2 separate regions of the Homo sapiens genome follow, and region 2 is linked to region 1. Evidence: promoter capture Hi-C in 16 types of primary human blood cells and fetal thymus (Javierre and others, 2016). All regions are on one chromosome and are shown on one strand. Each heading gives the region's core, a stretch centred on a gene start or on the middle of the fragment in contact. The rest is flanking DNA. Distances are from core to core; before and after follow the strand shown.

What was found. The method cuts DNA at HindIII sites, captures the fragments that hold promoters and counts their contacts. A CHiCAGO score of 5 or more calls a contact.
Region 2: the fragment with the promoter of RNASE3 here is called in contact with the fragment with the promoter of PNP in region 1 in 3 of 17 cell types (neutrophils, M0 macrophages and monocytes); the score reaches 9.6 in neutrophils.

What each region holds. Positions count from the first base shown.
Region 1 is chr14:20,464,906-20,470,839 of GRCh38, reverse strand. PNP (purine nucleoside phosphorylase) reads right to left here and starts at 1,434. Exons shown (of 6, transcript NM_000270.4): 1 at 1,305-1,434. The coding sequence starts at 1,315. RefSeq lists enhancers at 743-872, 903-972, 1,163-1,667 and a silencer at 1,383-1,502. The HindIII fragment of the contact is 7,340 bases long and covers 318-5,934 here.
Region 2 is chr14:20,888,283-20,893,589 of GRCh38, reverse strand. RNASE3 (ribonuclease A family member 3) reads right to left here and starts at 2,205. Exons shown (of 2, transcript NM_002935.3): 1 at 2,139-2,205; 2 at 1,242-1,908. The coding sequence starts at 1,903. The coding sequence ends at 1,421. All of the region lies in intron 1 of LOC100507513 (a long non-coding RNA gene), which reads left to right. The HindIII fragment of the contact is 4,045 bases long and covers 1-2,239 here.

The sequences.
Region 1 (5,934 bases), core at 185-2,684:
TGCTAACAACTTCCAAAGACCTATGGCTCTGTTACACAAAGTATTTGAATCTTTCTCCTGCTTTCCACCTGCCTGTGGTCTTCTTCCTGTCCTTCCCCCTCCCTGCCTCCTCCCAGTTTCCTTTCTCTCCACCGAGGATCTTTGCTCTTCAGAAACCTCAGGGCACTTACCCAGAACCCCTACACTAGCAAGAATCAACCCGTGTTACTTTTCTCCCAGTTCCAAGTCCAGTTCTCTCACATCCATCTGGGAAGACCAAACGTTGCTTTCAGAGGTGGCAATGAGGTGTGACAGAGCTGAACACAACTAACCAAGCTTTCACAGGAAATTTTTTACTTGGAAAGCAGAGCCCGGGAAACCAGACATGATTGCACAATACACCAGGCTACCCTCAGGGAAGCAGTTGGATCAGGTAGGTTGGGGGCTGGTCAACGGAGCCACAGGACAATGGAGAGAAGCAATTAAGCTGGTAAAATGTTAATCAAATGGCATCCCCAAAAGGTGCAAAGGAAATGAATGTGTGAAGCTGCCGCCACATGGCATGTCTAGCCACATCTCACAGCACTTCCTCATTGGCTATCAGTCCCCTCAAGAACACCCTGGCTCCCTGGGCATCCAAAAGCAACTGTGATGCCTAATGCAGGTCACTTGGACTGGGATATCCAGGACCCAAGCCGAGAGAAGAGTTTTCAAAGGCGTGGGGTGGGGGAAGTGAGCACAGGACTGTTGCTCAGTTCGGTGACTGATTTCCGTCTCCACTTAGCAGTCACTTCCCACCGAGTTAATCATACTGCCAGTCTGGAAGGAAGGGAGGAGTGCAACTGGCAAAGGAGGTGAGTAATCTTGCCTCTAAAGGAGGAACTCCGAATTTGAGCACCAAAAGTACCTCGCAGCTTTACCCAGACCCTAGCATGGGAATTTATGAAGAGCGCAGGGGGTGAGGAGACCTCCTCCTGGTATGGAGTGAGGGATATATACATATACTCACTCTCCACTTGTTCCCCTAACACACACACGGAGACACACAACGGCTGCTTTTACGGAGTAGCTTAGACCGCACCGACCTGTCCCCTTCCTGCTCCGGTGGCGCCACCCCAGCTCGATTCCCGCGTGCGTCCCTGCCCGCGCTGGCTGCCGCATGACTCTGCCGCCTTGCTCCCGACACTAGGCTCAGTGCCAGGCCTCTCTGCATCCCCTGGGCGCTCGCTCCCTCCGCCAGCTCCCTCTGGGCCCAGTGTGCCAGGTTCCCGGGTCACAGCACCTGCCCCTCCCCAAGGGTCCTGCGGGCCTGGTGCCCTCCTCACCCGTTCTCCATGGTCTCGCAGACGCCTTCTCGATGAGCCTGCTCCGGTGTGCTCCGATCCGCTCCGATCCGATCGGATCCGCTCCGCTATGCTGAACTGAGCAAGGCTGCCGGGTCTGGTTCGCACAGTTGGCTCACTGGTCTAGGCTCTGGCTTATATCCCTTGCCCTGGAGTCCCCAGCCAATGGCAAGCGAGCACGCGGGCCGGCCCTGTCTCCATGGTGACACACCCTAATTCAATCGGCTGAACCTGGGCTGTAAACCTAATCAGAGTTCTTCCCAGCCCTAAACCTTCTGCCCCGGGGCGGGCGGGGGGAGCCGGAGCGCACCCAGCATTTCATCTCGGTACCCATTCCAGTCCGCAGGGCAGGAGTTCCCAGCAAGAAGGCCTATGCGGAAATAGGGCTAGAAGTAGGGAGGAGAGCCCCCAGCCCTCTCCTTGCAACCTCATTCCAGCTGTGTCAATAGCAAACCGTGAGAGATTCAAAAAGGAAAAATTTCATACCTTAGATTGTACAACCCCAGAATAAAAATGAAGCGAGACTGTGTCTGAGTTGCTCCCTGGACAAGGGAAGCTGGGTCGCCCCCGGCAACAGTGCTAACTTGGAGGATACAGGGTTTAGGAGAGCACATCCAGGCCCAGACCGGGAGAAGAAAAAGTTCTCAGGCAAGAATTCCGGGGTCCTAGATGCCGACAGAAAGGATAAGGATGGATTTGGTGGGTAGGGACACAGATAATCCCTTGATCTGCGCAATATTGATCCAAGCAATTCAGGTAACTAGAGGACTCCTCCCACGAAGAAAATTCTGTTATCGGAATACACGGGTACCAGAATATAACATAAATAGCGTGTCTTTGGTAGAATACAACTATTACTTCTGCCCACATTTACAATTTAATTTTTACATTTAATTTACATTTTTACATTAAATTTACATTTAATTTTTAATTTAAAAAATTAAAAAAAAATTTATATATAAAGGCCAGGCGCGGTGGCTCACGCCGGTAATCCCAGCACTTTGGGAGGCCGAGGTGGGTGGATCACCTGAGGTCAGGTGTCGGAGACCAGCCTGGCCAACAAGGCAAAACCCCATCTGTACTAAAAATACAAAAAATTAGCTGGGCGTGGTGGCAGGCGCCTGTAATCCCAGCTACTTGGGAGGCTGAGGCAGGGAGAATGGCTTGAACCCGGGAGGTGGAGGTTGCAGTGACCTGAGATCACACCATTGCACTCCAGCCTGGGCAACAGAGTGAGTAGCTGGTTCCTGAGAACTTACTAGCACTTTGAAAATAACAATGCACACAAATTGAAAAAAAAATTTCGTTCTTAAATAACCACAAACAGTTACTTACGGGATATGTACATCTGTTTGGCACTACTCAACTTCTCACATGCAGGAATCCAATGCTGCCACCCTCATTTTCTGTTCCATGCTGATTTTTACACAGTACTTTTTTTTTTTACTTAATACTTAATTTTTATCAGAGGGACCTTCTAAAACCATCTTTTGTAAAGATATGTTGTCTTTATATATATATATATTTTTGAGACAGGGTTTCACTCTGTAACCCAGGCTGGAGTACAGTAGCACGATCTTGCCTCACTGCAATCTCTGCTGCCTGGGTTTGAGCCATTCTTTTGCCTCAGCCTCCCGAGTAGCTGGGATTACAGGTGCCTGCCACCATGCCTGGCTAATTTTTGTATTTTTAGTAGAGACGGGGTTTTGCCATATTGGCCAAGCTGGCCTTGAACTCCTGACTTCAACTGATCTGCCCACCTCGGCCTCTCAAAGTGCTGAGAGTATAGGCATGAGCTACCACACCTGGCCAGATATATTGTCATCAAAAGGAATGTAGCACAATCTAATGTTCCAACTGTGAATCACCTCAAGTTAATAGGTCACACAGTGTTTAAGAAATATAAAATATTGCTGTGTTTCCTCTGAAAATTAAAAATATTCCACAATACCCTTGTGAGCTTGTACTTTGGCACAGTTTGGGAACCATGGCCCCAGTCACTCCATGCCACCTCATTCCTGAATCTATGTAGTGTAAATGAATGGGCTCTAATAAAACTACCTGTGTATGAATGCCATCTTCACCCCTTATTTACTCGTGTGATTCTAGGCAAGTAAAATTCTTATTATGCTTCAATTTTTTCATCTGTAAAATAGCAATAATCTTAGTATTTTTGCAAGGATTATACAGAATACCTTTTACATGTTTAGGTAAATGCCTGGATATATAATAAGCACACATTAAATGCTGGCTATTATGATTAATCTCCATTGTCTCTTTCTCTTTTGTTCTTTCTAGACTCACCTAACCATAAATTGAATCAAAATAAAAACTAGAGGTATATCCAGCCTATCAATACCAATGAATCCCACACTGTTCAAAACAGAAGGCACTAGCCATGTGTGGCTATTTAAAAGTAATAAAATTAATTAAGATGAAATATAATAAAAATAATTCAGTTACCTAATCATACTAATTACATTGTAACTTCTCGATAGTCACATGTGGTTAGTGGCTACCATATTGCATAGCATAATTACGTTTTTATGCTAGAGCACAGCACTGTTCTTATCTTTTCTAGTCACTGCCACCTTGTATCCACATAAAAGAAACTGGAACTGTGCTTTATTATTTACTTTTAGGGTAAAAGAGTTCCTGTAGCATTCCTATAGACAGGAACCAGACGATCATCAATCTTAGTGTGATTAGAGTTCATTAATGCCTTATTACCTTTTCTTCTATCTTCTCATCACTTCTATCTTCAGAGGGACTCCTTGTCCAGGAACATACTTAGTAACACACTTACCCTCCACCCGCAAGATCAAGGAAACTAAAAAAAAGTGGCAGGAATAGGTTCTAAGTCACTCAGTATTGCCTTGTGGAACGTATTTTATTCCTGCCCTCTCAACTGAGATCTCTTATTCTCTCTAGATCACAAGCTAAATATGCGGTTTTAAAAATATCTATCCCTGGCCAGGCACAGTGCCTCAGACCTGTAATCCCAGCACTTTGGGAAGCCAAGACAGGAGGATTACTTGAGCCCAGGAGTTTGAGACCAGCCTGAGCAACATGGTGAAGTCTCATCTCTACAAAAAATACAAAAATTAGCCAGGTGTGGTGGCATCTGTGGTCCCAGCTACTAGGGAGGCTGAGGCAGGAGAATCACCTGAGCCCAGGAAGTCAAGGCTGCAGTGAGCTGTGATGGAGCCACTGCACTCCAGTCTGAGTGACAGAGTGAGACCCTATCTCAAAAAATAAAATAAAATATCTACTCCCCTTATCACCATAATCTTTGGTCTTCCATTTTCTCCAATTACTGAAATTAAAACATTTTAGGGTTTTTCCCTGTTTTTTTTTTGTTGTTGTTTGTTTGTTTGTTTTTAGATAGGGTCTCGCTCTGCCACCCAGGCTGGAGTGTAGTGGCTCAATCTCAGCTCACTGCAGCCTCAATCTCCTAGGCTCAAGCGATCCTCTTTCCTCTGCCTCCCAAGTAGCTAGGACTACAGGCACGCACCACCGCATTCGCCTATTTTTTATTTTTATTTTTTTAGAGATGGGGTATCTTCATGTTGCCCAGGCTGGTCTCAAACTCCTGGGCTCAAGTGATCCTCCCACCTCAGCCTCCCAAAGTACTGGGATTATGGGCATGAACCAGCACATCCAGCCCTTCTCTTTCTGTTATAGGGATCACTTTTATTTCTCTTTTCTAAGAGTGAGACTTCCATCTGTGCCTCACTCAGTGGCAGGAAGAACAGAGCAGAGATAAAGGACTGGCCTACCACCCTCTATTCCAAAGACCTTGGCTCCTAGAAAGGGAAGCCAGGAATTCCCTAAAGGAAAGAGCAAAGAACTGAGGCCCAGGAAGAGCAAGGAGCACAAGGGAGCAAAGTCCCAATGTAATTAACGTAAATTAATTCTTTAAAACCAGGTCACACCCTACCCAATCCCACCCAACCCCCGGCAAACTACCCCTCGTCTTAGTTAACTCACTCTGCACATTACCAGAAACTTTCTGTGCCTTTGAAATGCAGTAAGGGATTGTGTTGTTTTCACACAGGTGGTAAATTACCACTTCAGGAAAGAGGAAAAAAGAAATAGGGCATGTGGAATATGTGAAAAAAAAGAAATCAGATTGGGACACTTTGGGTCATAGAAGCCAAGCAGATGTTTTCCACCCCATCCTCTGGCCATGTACACACTGTACTAGTTATCACTTTGTTGGAAATCTAAAGAAAAAAATGCTTTGAAATCTATTCTATTATATAACACAATGAAGTGTGTTCCCCCAAATTCTTATATTGACGCTCTAATCCTCATTGTGACTATATTTGGAGATAAGTCCTTTAAAAAGGTAATTAAGTTTAAATGAGGTCATAATGGTGGGGCCACAATCCAATAAGACTGTTGTTCTCATAAGAAGAAGAGAGGCCAGGCAGGGTGGTGCTCACCTGTAATCCCAGCATTTGGACACCAAAGCAAGAGGATCACTTGAGCCCAGGAGTTAGAGACCAATGACCAGCCTGGGCAACATAGTGAGACCCTGTCTCTACAAAAAATTAAAATATTAGCTAGGCATGGTGGCATGCACCTGTCATCCCAGCTACTTGGGAGA
Region 2 (5,307 bases), core at 956-3,455, 420 kb before region 1:
CATGGAGTCATCTGAGGAATGGAAATTGCTGTTTCTCAGGGTCTGGAAGAGGAGGAGAAATATAGAAGTCAGAAATCTCAGACTGAAGGACCAAGGTGCAGATCTGATGGCATCGTACCTCTCTTGCATTCTGAGTCGGGCCATTCAAAAAGACCCACTCTGTTCCTGGAACAATCACTTGAATGCTGCACCTGTCCACAACTTGCAGGAAGGGGCTTCCCCTTTTTCTCCCCTGTTTCTCATGGATTCCTGAGTGAAGCCCTGTGTTGGAGTCCAGGGCAGCGGCTCTCATCATCCATTTCTTCTCTCTCTGGGTCTACAAATCCTGAATTCTCGAGGCTGTGCCCTTCCTGACAGGTGTTGAATGAACCTTTGACTCGCCATTGGGAACATCTATGGAGGGCAGAATGGGCAGGAGCCAACTCACCTTCATGAGTGCTCCCACTTCCTCCTCCTCCTCCTCCCCCTTCTCCTTCCCACGTGACCAGCGGCTCCCCATCTCCAGGACATGGAACTTTTGGGAAAGATGTCCACCTCTCCTCCAGTCAGCATTACAATCTGTCCTTACTGCTGTCGGAACAATTTATCTTATTGCACATTTGACTCAAACCCTGGTTCCACCTCTATTACGATTGCTAATAGCTGGAGACTTGATGTGCCCATTTAAAAGAAATATCCCTGAGGCTAAACTTTTCTTTATCTTGGTTTCACCTTATTTATAGCATTCTTGACTTTTTCTACTTTCTTCTTTTCTATTTTCTATCATAACGTTCAATTCTATCAAAATTTATCATTCATAAATCATAATGAAGCACGTGCATTTTCAGCTGATTCACTGCAGCTCTTTTTTTCTTGGGATAGAAATCATGTCAATAAAAACCATAGTCGGACCATAAAGCATCAAATGGGACCTCAATATCAAATTGGGCTCAATTCTGGAATACAACTAAAACAAGTGGAGATCTATACACAAGTTATAGGTTGGTGTTGGGGGAGGAGTCAGTGGATGGAAAATTGCTTAGAGGAGATATTAAGGCTAGGGAGACCAATGCTAAGTTGACTCAATTGGATTTTTTTTTAAGGCAGGCCTGGAATCAGGTATCACATGAAGGATGATGGGGGAATTAAGGAATTTGGTCAGATATTGAGGGGGAGAGATTCATGATAAACCCAAATCTCTAGAGCAGATTGTCACTAAATGACAGCAGAGCGGCCGAGGAAGACACACAGACACTTCCAGATGAATTTGCAAAGCAGTTTATTGCAGGGTTCACAAGGGACTTCAGCTCAGGAAAGCTGAAGGGGTATGGAGACTGATGAGGACAGTTGCTGATACCCAGAGTACATGGAGGGATGGGATCTTGGCTATGATTGAGGAGCTTGGCAGATGAGTGATGATGAGGACTGCTGATACAGGAGCTTAGATGGTGGTATCCAGGTGAACTGGAACCACAGGATACCGTGGAGAATCCCGTGGATCTCTGTTGTCACATGCAACTACATAGAACCTCCTTCCTGGTCTGTCTGCATACGTGCAGTTTGAAATATTCTGTGCACCTGGATTTATGAGGTCACAGTGGAGTAAAGGCACCCGGAATCTACTCCGATGACAATTGTTGAGAGTTCTGTTATGAGGGCAGCGTATACTTTGGTTACCACAAACATTAACTACATTAGCAAAAGTTGTACGAAGAAAAGTATTTTGGTTTTTGCAACGCCATCGATAATTGTTAATTGCCCGCATTGCAATGGTGCATCGAGGGGGGTTCAGACTGATGTGCTGGATGGCAAACCACTGAGCCCTCGTAAACTGTGGGGGTCTGGCATGGAGTGAGCCCTCCACACCCATAAGCCCCAACAGAAGAAGCAGACAAATTTGGGAAGTGAACAGTTTTGGAACCATGTTTCCTGTAAGAAAAGAAGAGAAGTAACTACTCCCCGATCCGGTCTCGGTTATGACACACTCTATAGTGTCTCAACCCACAGGCCCCTCTGCTGCCACTCTGGGGTCGCATTTCCTTTTCTTCCTGTCCCCAAAGTGTGCCACATCTCCTAAGCACTAACTTCAGCTCACCTCTCCCTCAGGTGCTGCCCTGTCGCTGCCCCTCCTGTCCCAGCTCTGGGGATTGTTGACTTACCCAGTCTCTGAGCTGTGGCTCCTGTGAGAACTGATCCAGCTGGTTGTTCTGGGGTTCAGGGGCAGCTGGTCTCCCCTACTTGGAACTGTTTAAATAAAGCTTCCCTTGGTGGGTCTGGCCATGCAGAAACCCACAGATTGACACATGGTCCACTTGTGCAATCATCCTTTTTATTTGATGACTTGGCTGAGCAACGGATACCCAAGGACAGCCCTGCTGCTCTTTCTGCTATACGGACTCTAATTCCAAGTCATCCTGTGTTAGACAGAGTTTTGCCGGTGGGATCTGGACTCTGGGTGAAAACTATACGCTGCCGGCAGAATGACCACAGATTTTATAACTGTCCTCTGGCAGGCCCCTAAATGACTAAATGACACGAAGGCAGGCATAGTAGTTAGGAGAAATAGAGCCACAGAGGGCTGTTTGCCCAGGAGAAACCCAGCTTCCCTTCCATTTTTAGTAATATCCTTGGTTCTCTCTCACATAAATGCTCTCCATCTCATCCACCACTCTTGCTGGAAACTTGAGCTATTAATTTCTTGGGGCACAAGATTCTGTAGATAATTAAAACAATCTGCTCCATACAATTGAGGAATTTTTTTCTTTACTCCTCTTGCATTGGATCCACTTTCTCTTAAGTCTTGCCCTGATTATTGATTCCACTTTGTGTAAAGTTACATAACCTAAAAACACACCGAGGACAGTTGTAAAATCTGGCAGAGGATGAATGAACATTTGGTGTCATGAAAGATTCCAACCTAGCACTCGGTATTCCTGTGATCTTTTCAGCCTATGGTATTTTCTACAAAACAGTGTGTTCTGGGGTTGTCATTCATCTTCCTGGTAAGTTTCATTTTGTGATATTAACAAGAATATGGTTCTGTATTTACAAATGAACATTTAAGGACAGAGCACTGTATTCCTGAAAGTATAGAGGTCAAGTGTACAGTTTGATACACAAAGCATACATTTATTCTTGGCCCTCAGAGAAACACAGGAAAGTACTTGTAGACATATAATTGTATTACAGTGTGATAGAGGTAATAGCATTTGTGTGAACATGGTGTCATAGGGACACTGCTGGTGAAGGAAATCACTTGGCTTGAGAAATAAGGAAAACTTCAAAAAAAAGTTTATTTCAGCAGGTCCTAAAGGATAAGCAGGGGATTTTCAGGGGATTTAGAGAAGAGATGAGCATTCTGGGCACAGGGGATGATGTGGGGAAATTGTACAGAGGTGAGAAGTGAATTGCAAAGGTAAGGCCTGGGTACTAACAGATGTTAAATCTGGTCTAGCTTTGAGATTAGAAAATGGAAAGTAGACCCTTAAATGATATAATATACCTTCCAACAGTTAATCTGCCTAATTTTTACTACCGTCCAATTTTCCTGTCATTTAGAAATGCAATAATTTTATCACTGGGGTCCTTAGGTAAATGTGGACACAATGGTGACCTGGTGAGGACTCAATGCGCAGCTAATATTGCTCTGCCTTGAAGTCCTGTTCTGGCCGACATTCATTAGCAGCTTTATCATGAGGCAAGTTTATTTTTTCATGTATATTGTGTGGAGATCATTTTTGTAGGTGATGAGAATGTAAAGGTGAATGATACGTAGAGTATCCCCTCTGTGATGCTGACAGCCACACTGGCTAGAAACATTTGCACTTAAGTGTCTATAGTATGAGGCAAAAGACATAGACTGCAGCCCCAGGGCAGGTACTTGGCTAAACAGTGCTTCTTTTCAGCATACACAGTGCTATTTATGATGTTTGGTTTGGAAGATAAAGTTTGACATTGGAATAGTTCACTAAAAGTTTTCATTACTGTCTTATCTTTAAAAATCACATGATGGTGGTTGGTGCACCATTGGTGTTGTATCAATTAGAGCTGAGTAACAGCTGCGTCTGTGGAAGGGGCTCTAGCTCAGGGCTGTTCTCTGACTCCACTCTCCCTCCTGACTTTTATCCTATCTGTTCAGTGATGACACCTGCCTGGCTCCTGAAGACATCTGTGCTTATGACATATCAGACTTATTGAAGTGTCTTAAGCAGACCATAACCTGCCCAATTTGCAACCATATTCATCCTTTAAAATTGTGGAGTTTTTTGTTTTTTGTTTTTTTTTGAGACGGAGTCTTGCTCTTGTCACCCAGGCTGGACTGCAGTGGCGTGATCTCACTGCAACCTCCACCTCCGCCTCCCAAGTTCAAGTGATTCTCCTGCCTCAGCCTCCTGAGTAGCTGGGATTACAGGCGCTCGACACAATGCCCGCCTAATTTTTGTATTTTTAGTAGAGACGGGGTTTCACCATGTTGGCCAGGCTGGTCTCAAACTCCTGACCTCAGGTAATGCGCCCACCTCGGCCTTCCAAAGTGATGGGATTACAAGTATGAGCCACTGCTCCCAGCCATAAAAATTGCATTCAGAACATGCTCATAAGGTTTTTCTGATTGTCCCTTGTGTAGATTTCCTGCGTACATTTCCAACTACCTTCATTTGCCAGCAGAAGTAGTACAAATGATCTACTTTGATATTTATGACCTTTGAGAGAAGATGTTTTATATGAAGCAGGAATAAAGTATAAGTCAACATTAAAGAAAATTATCTGTTATGATCTCTGTAATCGAAACAAAATTCTCTGTAACTTCAGCATGATTTTGTCTTGAACAGACACAAGGCACTTCACCCGGGCTCTTTATTTTATTAGCATAACTTGTCTTGCAGCCTAATTTAACGACACATTTTCAGACCTGATCCACACTTCCAATGAGAGGAATAGTCAGAATTACGCCCTAGTGTTAAGTCATTTTTTGGAAACCGATGAACATTGTAAAATATTATCCCAGACAAAGACTTCTGCATTTGTGGTAAAAACCACTGTTGAGTACACTGCATTGATCAATGTCTTTTTTGCATAGCATTTATGTGCAAAAATATAATGTTCAATGCTTGCAATTTCTTCAGCCCCAGGGTACCCTTGCAATATTTGCTCTTAACCTGCTGACAGGGAGGTACCAAACCATCGATACCTTCCTGCACACAGATTTCCCTAATGCAGCAGTGGCTATCTATGGGAAAGACAATGCACACTATTTACTAGGTTGGTGCAAAAGTAATTGCGATTTTTGCCATTAAAAGTAATACAAGATTGTCATAATAATATGGTGCA